2 separate regions of the Homo sapiens genome follow, and region 1 is linked to region 2. Evidence: promoter capture Hi-C in 16 types of primary human blood cells and fetal thymus (Javierre and others, 2016). All regions are on one chromosome and are shown on one strand. The core of a region is centred on a gene start or on the middle of the fragment in contact, and the rest is flanking DNA. Distances in the headings are between cores, read along the strand shown.

The links. Contacts are between HindIII fragments. The CHiCAGO score rates a contact against its expected background, and 5 or more counts as called.
Region 1: a contact is called between a fragment that was not itself captured here and the fragment with the promoter of CEP192 in region 2, in 4 of 17 cell types (neutrophils, activated CD4 T cells, naive CD8 T cells and 1 more). The highest score is 9.4, in neutrophils.

The regions. Positions count from the first base shown.
Region 1 is chr18:12,724,576-12,730,089 of GRCh38, forward strand. PSMG2 (proteasome assembly chaperone 2) reads left to right here. Exons shown (of 7, transcript NM_020232.5): 6 at 1-44; 7 at 864-1,165. The coding sequence ends at 956. Among named protein-coding and RNA genes, the nearest start is that of LINC01882, 22 kb to the right of the region's middle. The HindIII fragment of the contact is 7,922 bases long and covers 1-5,514 here.
Region 2 is chr18:12,986,678-12,992,820 of GRCh38, forward strand. CEP192 (centrosomal protein 192) reads left to right here and starts at 4,685. Exons shown (of 45, transcript NM_032142.4): 1 at 4,685-4,760. It overlaps SEH1L (SEH1 like nucleoporin), which reads left to right. Exons shown (of 9, transcript NM_001013437.2): 9 at 185-854. The coding sequence ends at 380. RefSeq lists enhancers at 3,004-3,616, 4,007-4,386 and a silencer at 4,867-4,946. The HindIII fragment of the contact is 8,933 bases long and covers 937-6,143 here.

The DNA of each region.
Region 1 (5,514 bases), core at 703-3,202, 260 kb before region 2:
TTGTTGAGTATCTTAATGAGTGGCTTCAGATACTCAAACCACTTGTAAGTTCTATTATAGCTTAAGCCTCTTCTTTGTCTGGTTGTATTCATTAACTCGCACTTTATATACTACCTAAGTAGACCAAGTAAGTGAACGTTTGTATTAAATATAGACATATCTTTACATAAAATTTAGTTTAAGCTGAACTTTTGAAAATTAGAGGACAGTTAACCAACCTATTATTTACAGTTTTTTCATTAAAGCTGACTTTCCAAAAAGGAAAATCCTTAGTTCTTCATTGTACTTACTATTCATGTTAGATTAATTATGCCAGACATAGTCTTGCAATAATAAACAAGCCTTCTGTGGAATTCAGGAATTTTTTTAGGGAAGTAAAAAGTATTGCTATGTGAGCAATACTGTAGCTATTGAATATGTATTACAGTTGATATTTTTCTCTATTATGAAATGAGAGCATTACACCCAGGGAAGTGAGTTAGCCTTTAGGCATAACAGAACACTGAGCATAAGGCTGCTTTCTAAGATGGGTAACTAGCTTTTTAATTCATGCTTTTGCCAAGAACAAATTGATACAAATCACATAATGCTGATTTTTTTTTTAATCCCTATTCTTTTTGAATGTGATTTTCCCTAATAAACTTCATCTACAGCCTTTCTGGCATATCTTTATAATTTGGAACTTAAAGAAATTTATCTTCAGTTGACATGAAGACAAAGAAACTTTATTTTTCCTTAACAATAAAACCTGGCTATAAAAGTGCCAACCAAAAGGAACACAAAAGGAGAGTTTTATAATTCACTTTAAAAGGAGATTTGATGGTAAAGTTTAAAGATTAAAATATTTTGTTCTTCAATTACAGAGCGATGACCCCACAGTATCTGCCTCACGGTGGAAAATACCAAGTTCTTGGAGATTACTCTTTGGCAGTGGTCTTCCCCCTGCACTTTTCTGATCTAATTTCTGTTTTATACCTTATACCCAAAACACTTACTACCAACACAGCTGTTAAACATTCTATACAAAAAAATTGTATGATCTGGTATTAGGAAATTACTTTCACAGTAAATATCAAAGAAAAAAGATTAAGGGTCTCTTTGCCATGCTTTTCATCATATGCACCAAATGTAAATTTTGTACAATAAAATTTTATTTCCTAAGTAATTTTGTCTTAAATGTATTTTTTTTAATTTCAGACTCTCTATTAGCTTCCTAGTTTGTCTCTAATAAATCACCACAAACTTAGTGACTTAAAACACACCAGTTTAATTTTTTCATTAACTAATTAATTAATTTTCATTCTGTATTTTAAGTAAAATGAGACGAGGTCTTGCCATGTTGCCCAGGCTGGTCTCAAACTCCTGGGCTCAGGCAATCCTCCTGCCATGTCCTCCCAAAGTGCTGAGATTACAGGCATTACACCACTATGCCCAGCCACAAATTTGCTTTTAAATTCTGACTTCTGAGTTCTAGGAGTCAGAAATCCAACAGTGGGTCTGACGAGACTAAAATCAGGGTGATCGCAGGGCACTGCTCCTGAGGAAGGCCTTAGGGAGAATTTGTGTTCTGCTGTTTCCAGCTTCTAGAGGCTGCCATATTATTTGGCTCATGGGCCCTTCTATCTTCAAAGCCAGCAGCTTAGCATCTTCAAATCTCTCAGTTATAAAAGGACCCTGTGATTGCATTGGGCCCACCCCAATAATCCAGGATAGTTTCCCCATTTTAGAATAATTTTACTATAAAAGAAATAATAAAAATAGTTATCATTTTCGAGTGCCTGCTGCATACTAGTCACTGTTCACCCCTAGTCTTTGGGATGTACGATTTCACTGTGTTACCTCTGTGCCTTGGCTCTCTCATCTGTAACACAAGGGCTTGTAATATTTAAGGATACAACTACTTCCCAGCACTCCGGAAAGGTTTCCTTTTGATATGTAAATCATGCTGGATTCTGTGGCCTATTTCTGTTTCCCTTTTGGTTAAAATATGAAATGGGGGTTGACATCAGCAAGATGGCAAAATAGGAAGTACCAGTCCTCATTACCCCACAGAGACACCAGTTTAATTTATAGACCAGGATACCAGAAACCAGTTAAGTTGCAGTATCCCCAGGTGAGTGCAAAATTAAGAACAGCCACGTTGAAATGAGTAAGAAGAGTCATTTCACTTTACTCCACCCAGGATGACAGCCCAGCATGATGGCGAGTACGCCAGCTCCTGGCTTTTCCCTGGGTTGAAGGGGGCAGACTCGGTGAGGGGGAGAGAGGTAGAGAACGTTGGAGCATGTGACCAAGATTCTGACTCTTTCGTCTTGTCTGACTTGGAATACTGACAGAACTGGCATCCTTTGGATGTCTGGAGTCTGCTAAAAGCACGGGAGAGTTGGAGGATCGTTTGCCGTGCCACCAGAGCCTGTAGTACCACAGACAGGCCAGTGTGGCTGGACACCACCAAGAGAAATCACCCAACTTGCATTTTCTCTCCCAGGAGGAATGGAACTTACACGCCAGCATTGCAGCTTTTTGTAGTGCTGCCCAAGGGACTGTTGCCCATCTCATCTAACTTGGGGTGCTTATAGGAAGCTGTCATGCTTTGCCAGAGAGCCACTGAGAACAAAGGGGCGACTTGCAGCTGCAGCACTAGGGAACGTGCAATTCTGAAGACAGACACCAGAGGGAGCAAGAGATTACAAGATGAAAAACCAGCAACCTTCAGTTGGGAAATAACACAATCCTAAAAAGTTGAACTTGGAAAAACATTTAAGAGGTTTCAGAATCTCTACCTGGGCTAGCTGGTGAAGGTCTGCCCTGTACAAAGCCAGTATGCAAAGATTGGGAGTGGCCGAGTGTAGTGCCTTACACCTATAACCCCAGCACTTTGGGAGGCTGAGGTGGGAGGATCACCTGAGGTCAGGAGTTCGCGACCAGCCTGACCAATATGGTGAAACCCCATCTCTACTAAAAATACAAAAAAACAAATTAGCCAGACATGGTGGCACACACTTGTAATCCCAGCTATGCGGGAGGCTGAGGCAGGAGAATTGCTCAAACCCAGAAGGCGGCGGTTGCAGTGAGCCAAGATCATGCCACTGCACTCCAACCTGGGCAACAGAGCGAGACTCTGTCCCAAAAAGAAAAAGAAAATATGAGGCTCACTGGCAAACTAAATATAGACAAATGCAGAATCCTTCAGGACTATAATGGTAGTGCACTTTTAATTCTGGTCCAGAATTGACAAGACAAAGCATAAAAATAACTGTAACTGGCCAGGCACGGTGACCCACACATGTCATCCCAGCACTTGGGGAAGATTTCTTGAAGCCAGGAGTTTAAGACCAGCCTGGGCAAAAAAGTGAAGCCCCATCTCTAAAAATCAAAACAAACACTGTAACTATAAAAATATGTTAAAATATCTTAATGGGTACGCACTATGTAAAGGTGTAATTTGTGACATCAATAATTTTTTTTTTAGCTTTTGCACAGCAAAACAAACAGCAGAGTAAGCAGACAACCCACAGAGTGGGAGAAATTTGCAAACTATGCATCCGACAAAGGAATAATATCCAGAATCTATAAGGAACTCAAATGAGCAAGAAAAAAATAATCCCATTACAAAGTGGCAAAGAACATAAATAGACAATTCTCAAAAGAAGATATACAAGCAGCCAACGAACATGAAAAAATGCTCAACATCGCTAATCATCAGGGAGATGTTAAGACCGCAATGAGATATCACCTTACTCCTGCAAGAACGATCATAATTAAAAAGTCAAAAAAACAATAGATGTTGGTGTGAATGTGGTGAAAAGGGAACACTTCTACACTGCTGGTGGGAATGTAAATTAGTACAACCACTATGGGAAACAGTGCGGAGATTCCTTAAAGAACAAAAAGTAGAACACCATCTGATCCAGCAATCCCACTACAGGGTATATACCCAAAGGAAAATAAGTCATTATATGAAAAAGACACATGCACACACGTTTATAGCAGCACAATTCACAATTGCAAAGATATAGAACCAACCTAAGTGACCATCAACCAATGAGTGGATAAAGAAAATGTGGTATATTCATCGTGGAGTACTACTCTTCAGCCATAAAAAGGAATGAAATAATGTCTTTTGCAGCAACTTGGATGGAGCCAGAGGCCATTATTCTAAGTAAAGTAACTCAGAAATGGAAAACCAAATATTGTACCTCTCACAAGTGGGAGCTAAGCTATGAGGGCTCAAAGGCATAAGAATGATATAATGGACTTTAGCAGGCCAGGCACAGTGGCTCACACCTGTAACCCCAGCACTTTGGGATGTCAAGGTGGGTGGATCACTTGAGGCCAGGAGTTCGAGACCAGCCTGGCCAACATGGTGAAACCCTGTCTCTACAAAAAAAAAAAAATACAAAAATTAGCTGGATGTGGCGGCATGTGCTTGTAGTCCCACCTACTAGGGAGGGTGAGGCACAAGAATCACCCAGGAGGTGGAGGTTGCAGTGAGCCAAGATTGCACCACTGCACTCCAGCCTAGGCAACAAAACAAGACTCCATCTCAGGGTAAAAAAAAAAAAAAAGAATGATATAATGGACTTTGAGGACTTAGCCAGGGAGGTTTGGAGGGGGTGAGGAATAAAACACTACATGTTGATTATAACATAGACTGCTTGGGTGATGGGTACACTAAAATCTCAGAAATCACCACTGAAGAACTTATCCAGGTAACCAAAAACCACCTGTACCCCAAAAACCATTGAAATAAAAATTTTAAAAATAATTTTTTTAAGATGAGAGATCTTGCTATGTTGTCCAGGCTGGTTTTGAACTCCTGAGCTCAAGCCATCCTCCCACCTTGGCCTCCAAAAGTGCTGGGGTTACAGGCATGAGCCACTGCACCTGGCCCTACATCAATAATTTAAAAGTAGAGTTGTAAAAGTGGTTTTTGTATATGATTGAGTAAGTTGTTATCAGCTTAAAATAGATTATTACAAGTATAAGATGTCTCATGTAAGTCCCAGGATAACCACAAAGTAAATACCTATATTCTTTCAAAATTGAAGTCAATCCTCTGAAACCCTGCCGCTGCTTTGTCAACTAAGTTTATGGAATATCCCAAAATCCTTTGTTGTCATTTCAACAATGTACACAGCACCTTCACCAGGAGTAGATTCCATCTCAAGAAACCACTTTCTTTGCTCATCCATAAGAAGCCACTCCTGATCTCTTCAAGTTTTATCATGAGATTGCAGCAATTTATTCACATCTTTAGGGTCCACTGTTAAATTTAGTTCTTTTGCTATTTCCATCTTGCAGTTACCTCTTTCACTGAAGTCTTGAACTGCTCAAAGTCATCCATGAACGTTGGAACTGACTTATCTTAATGTTGATATTTTGACCTCCTCCCATGAATCAAAATATACTTAGTGTCATCTAAAATGGAGAATCCTTTTCAGAAAGTTTTCAATTTACTTTGCCCAGATCCATCAGAGGAATCACTATTTATGGCAGCTATAACCTTAGGAA
Region 2 (6,143 bases), core at 3,435-5,934:
TTGATTTGTGCTATTATGTTCTGTTAGTTTTGGCATGAATATACTAAAGCTTTTTTTTTTTTTTCTAGCATGTGTTTTCTCCTCTTTGGTTCTCTTTGTATTTACTACTTTTCTCTTTTTCTTGTGTTTTTTTTTTCCTGTTTTTGTTTTGTTTGGTGTTTTGTTCCTGTCTTCATTGTTTCAGGTATTTCTTTACCCCTCTGGATTCCCCACGGGCTGGATCGAGATGGTCCAGTTATGCCCAGCTCCTTCCTCCTCCTCCTCCTCCTCTGGTAGAGCACTCTTGCGATGCTGACACTGCCAACCTCCAGTATCCTCACCCTCGCAGACGATATCTCTCTCGGCCTCTTAATCCCTTACCTGAGAATGAAGGGATTTAAAACACTGATTTAACATTGAAAGGCCTTATTCAAGTGCTTGTAAATGCTTTCATTTCTGGCTGCTTTTTGTTTTTCATTTTCTTTCAGAAGATTTTTCTAACTTAGGGTCTGTCTTGCATGTATTACAACCAGAATACAGTGTTTGGAACCTAAATCTGTTTGTGCGTCTGCATCAAAGGAACATTTGCTTCACTGGGTGATAACCTTTGATGAAATGAGATATGTCCAAGTAACGTTAACTGTGAAGTTACACACAGTAGCTGACTTCAAAGTGCCTGTTCTGTAAATTTTATTTTAAACTGTTACCATAGTCTTAAGTTGTTTATGCTTTATCAGACTGGCTAATGTGAAAGCATAATATTATGAAGTTTATTCTGCCTTATGAGACCTTAAAAAATGGATTTCATTTTACAGGCTAATGTTGTAACTGACTAGTATGTAAAATAAATCATTCCTGTGTATAAAGCAGCAAAACCTAATGTGGACTTTTTGGTCTTTTTTTTTTTTTTTTTTTTTTAAAGGAAATTGCCTTTCACTACTTGGAATTACTGTTTAAAGCTTTTGTAATTATTATCCAAGTAGGTTATGTAATAAAATATATTTAAAAATATACGAATCTCTTGCCTTATAAAAACAGAATGTATTTTATTTAAGATAATTGCCAAGGCTTACTCTTCTTTCACTATCTCACAAAAAACCCAAACAAAAATTAGGAGATGTGAGCAAATATTACATTTATTTAAAAGGTAGAAAGTCAGTATGTAGACTACTAACATTTAGAATGGACAGATGTTGACTTTCAGTCTAATTAGTCAACATTAGAATATTTTCTAGAATATTTTAAAATGAGAATGTACTTGATTATAATTGTGGTAAAATGATTAAAACTAGTAATATGCTTGTTGGTTCAGTTTTGTCAGGAATTGTCAAGGGTTTAACCTCTTATCAGGGCTAGAGAGAGAGGTGTTTTGAACAGTATTTCATGTAACAGATTACATGAAATATCAGGTAATCACATAGGTGACATAGTTATTATAACTATTCTAATTTTCAAAGACGCCTTTCCTTGAATAGTGTCATAGCTCTAGTACTTCTTAATATGCAAAGGATTAAGAGCTGATAGAAAGATTCTGTTCATTTTATTTTATTTTTTATTTTTTAAGACAGTGTCTCACCCTGTTGCCCAGGCTAGAGTGTAGTGGCATGATCATGGCTCACTGCAGCCTTGAACTTCCGGGCTCAAGCGATCCCCCCACCTCAGTCTCTTGAGTAGCTGGGACTGCTGGTGCACGCCACCATGCCCTGGCTATTTTTTTAAAATTTTTTTTTAGTGAGGGGTCTCACTTTTTGCCCAGGCTGGTCTCAAACTCCTAGGCTCAATCCATCATCCCACCTTGGCCTCCCAAAGTGCTGGGATTACAGGCATGAGTCACCTCACCTAGCCTATTCATTTTAGTTTAAGGAACATTTGAGTTTTATTGTCTAATAATCAAAGTGTTTTGTCTCTAAAGTTAGCATTTCAATGTAAATATCTTTTTCAAATAATTCTCAAAGGTCTTCCTCTGGTTAAATGACTTGCTAGGCTTGTAGCCTTATGGAGGATCAAACAAGAAGTCTTAATGCTGAATCTAACCCAGAATTAAGAAGCCATGTCTTTGAGCTTTCAGACATAGAGGTACCTTGGGTAAGAATGGAATAATGAAATTGAGACCATTCTCCAGTTTAATTTAGTGAATCCTGAGCATCTACCATGTGCAAGATACTGTGCCAAACACTGGGGTATGTAGAAAAATAGGTAGTCTGCACACAAACTTACACTCGTGGGAGAAGGCATTTTTAGAATTTACAAAAGGTAATGGGTTCAGCTTTGTAATAATGGTAGAAATTGTATAGTAGGCATAAAAGAGACAAGTTATTTGAGCTGGCAGAATTTGGAAGGGATGTCTGATTTCAATAGGTAAAAGAGGGCCGGGGTGTGTTTACGGAATAGGATATAAGTAACAGTCTGATGAAAGAGTAGGGTTCATTTAGGGAACTACTGGGACATTAACCTGAAATCATACCTTGTGGTTACATTGTAGAAGGTTTTGAGTATTGGCTGAGGCATACCACTTTAAGCAGTTGGTAAAAGGGGAGCTGAGAGATGTCTGAACTTAAAACTGGATAGGCCTCACTTCTAATTCCCTGGGAGGCACCCTGGTCATGGGGCCTCTGCAGGCTCTACTCAGTGTCTAAAGAGATTTGGAAATCACAGTGGGAGTTCTGTTCCTCCTTTCCAGTTGGCAAGTGAGGTGAGATACTGAGGTATAAGATAATAGCTAATGTTTGTTGAGTATTTCCATGGGCCATTATTTTTCTAGATACCTTACAGAAGTAGCTTTAAATCCTCACAGTAAGCCTCTGAGGCAAGCGCTTTAATTATCCCCACTTTACAGACAAGGAAACCGGCTGGTTAAAGCTACTTGCCCAAGGCTACACAGTTTGGAAGAGGGAGGTAGAGCCAGGATTCAGATCCAGGCAGCCTGGCGTCAGAGTCCAGGCTCTCCTGCTGCCGAGACTCTGAATCAGAGATCTCTGTTAATAGAGTCCTATCAGGTTACTGAGTGTTGTGGGGAGTGCTGTGGTGACTTGAGGATATTTATGGAGGAAGGACATTTATTAACAAGGATCTGGTGTGAGTGACAGTCCGGAACCTGTAGACACATTTAAGCAGTTCACCTCCAATGTGTGACCGCTTTGTAGAAAAAGAGGTTAAGAGAGGTCAGCTCTAGGGCTGAGCATTTGGCTTACTTTTTTGGGATTCAGAAAATCTTGAGATTTTCTGCATTTATCTTTGCTCACTGAGTGTGGACAAAGGTAGAATAAAGGTAATTACTCTTTGCAAATACCAAGGCTGCAGGGTTCCAAGAAGAGGTGTCGAACTGTGGAGATATCACTGAGTTTGACAATTAGGAGTCTATTCCTGATAAAGTTTTAAGGACCCAGCTAGACACCATGAAATGCGTCAAAATAAGGTGTAAAAAGTGGAAGCCTGGCTTCCTCTATGGAAAAAAAAGTGGAGACCATTAAGGGAAGGAAACAAGAATGGTCATTAGGTGATGAAACAGAATCAAGGAAGGGGTGTGTGTGGGTGTGTGGTTTGAGTGGTGTTTGTGTGTGGAGGGTGTGTGTGGTGTGTGGGTGATGTGTATGTGGGTGTGTGTTGTGTATGGATGTGTGTATACGTGTCACACACGTGTGTGTGGTGCATATGTGGGTGTGTGTGGTTTGTGGTGTGAGTGGTGTGTGTGGTGTATGGGTGTGTGGTGTGTGTGTTTGGGTAGAGAGGTGCTGCATTTTTGTAGGCAGAGAGAAGGAAACCAGTGGAGAGGATATCCAAGAATGACAGGTGAGCCATGTTTGCAGGAGGTAGAAAGTGGTCAAGTAAACAGACGTCTTTCCCCACCAAGTAACCTCAGGTCTAGGGACTTCTAAACTTTGCGTTTTCCCTCTTCTTTCCTCCAAGGTGCGCCGGACATCTTTCAGTAACTTGAACGAAGTTAAGGAGTTAGCTTTGGAAAAGAGGGACTCTTTTCCCTCTGTGACTATATGGAATAAATTTTGAGATAAGGGACCTTACTGAAAAAGACTGAGATACATTTTGAGTGAAAGGCATGGTCTCAGTGAAGTAGTTAAGGGCCTGTGCCGAGCAGATGGCGGTGATGGGTTTTGTGGCCTAAGAAGGATGGAGAAAAGTAGGAAGCAATCGAGACAAAGCCTACTCTGTCACAAAGAGGCGACTAGATGTGGCGAAATGTCATGAAACTTGGATCCCGAGGAATTAGCTGATTGAAGGTGAAACCTGACGCCTTTCAGCGCCTACCAACAGGAAAGGTCTGCATCTGCCCACGGAAGGACGAAACCTATCGGGGGGGATTTGTTGGCGGGGGATACTTCTTTGCGCATAGAGTGACTGGCGGTGCCCTGGAGACCCAAACTGAATAAAGTAAGCATTATTTTCAAATTCGCCAAGACCTTGAAGGCGGCGCCAACGGGAGCCGTCCCCCGGGTCCCACGCAGCGCAGAGCTCCATTTCCTCCTCCGGACTCGCAGGGCGCGCGGCTTCCTCGCTTCAAATCCAGGAACGCGCTGTCCCCACCAATCACCGGGCTTCTTCCCGCCCCATGTCTTCCCGCTGTCCAATCAAAAGCCAGCTCAGTCTCCTCCCCTTGCCTGGTGCCGCGAACAGACGTAAACCAGAGGCGGGCGCGGTACGGCCGTTCCGGGCTCCAGCCGGTGCGGGGGCCACGCGCACGCGCACTTGCAGTGCCCTGGGACACCTCTTCAGTCCGTGGACTTTCCCGCTGCACACTGCCCTCCGAAGTCGGGGACGCGGGCTCGGTGAGGGGGGACGCTGGTGCCTCGGCCTGCGCCTAGGCGGGAGGCAGACGCATGCACCTTTGGCCTACGTTTCGGCTGCCGGACCGACGGGACAGTGACGGTTGGGCCGGGTGGGGGCGCAGGCTGTGGGGCGGCCTCAGGGCGCGAGCAAGGGGACTGCCGCGCTTCCCGCGCCTCTGCGCCTGGCGCAGCCTCTGAGCTGAGCTCCGCCTGGTTGGGATTAATTGCACGCCTCTGTGTCATCGGGCTTTGGCCGGGCGTGATGAGACAGACTGTTAGGGGATCACGTCCTTCTTTCCTCCCCTCTTGTCTGGGGACTTCCACCTCTTGAGGGACAGGCCCTCTCCGTGCTACCCTCTGGAGTTTCTTGCAGTGTGCTTGTGAAGTGACCGGTGATGTTTCCTTTATGTGCCCTGTGATGGGCGGTTCTGTTCCTCCTTTTTGTTTAAAATTCTGACCCAGGAAGTAACCTTGTTAACTTAACTTAATGCCCTTGTCTTCCGTTTACTCACTTGATTTGGTTTCTGCTAGGTTGCGTTCATTTATTCCTAATAGTTTACCTACATTCCTTGCCTATGATTTCATTATCAACAGAACGTGAAATGAGACGAATGTTAATACACTCTACTTTTACTTTGCTGTTACTTTCAGAGTTTGTTTAGTAAAACATGAGGACCTCTTCAAGTCAGTCGTTTGGAGAACAGCTGTTTATATGACCATATTTCCATTTGCTCTTACTATTTTGAGGTCATTCGACTGGCGTTTTTACTGCTCCAAAATCAACTTTTTCTCCAAATTTCAGTTTTCTAGGCAAAAACGGCAAGCCTTGAACAATAATATACCAAATGCCTACCTAGTTTTAAAGTATATCTTAAAGTGCCAAGAGTAAATGATGAGTTTTGGGGAAGTTTGACTCGGCTTTGGGTTCCACGGCGTGTGCTTTTAAATGTGTTTAATTGTATACATAGACCTACGATTAATGACTATAGTCAGTAATCTTTTATGTACCTAGGAATGTAATTAGTGAGTCCAGATGTGAAATTTGAGGTCACTACTTTAAGGAAATAGCAAGAGAAATTGCAAATATAGCCACTCAGTTCAAATAGGATAGAAGAAAAATATTGTCTTCACTTGAGATGATGGAGGAGGGGTGGGTAATGCAATAATGTGAGAAATTAAAGGAAATTTCCTTTAGGAATGTGTTATGTCCATGAATGGTTTACAAGTGTAATCTTTTCTGGAGAAGAGACTAGGTATTAGGTTACATCTTGAGGAATCTTCCCGTGGGTTTTGTTACCTTTGCACCCTTAGCAAAGCTCTGTTGAAGCACTTAACACTATCGTAGTTGACAGGGATTGTCAGCTCCCTGAGGGGAGCTGCCTT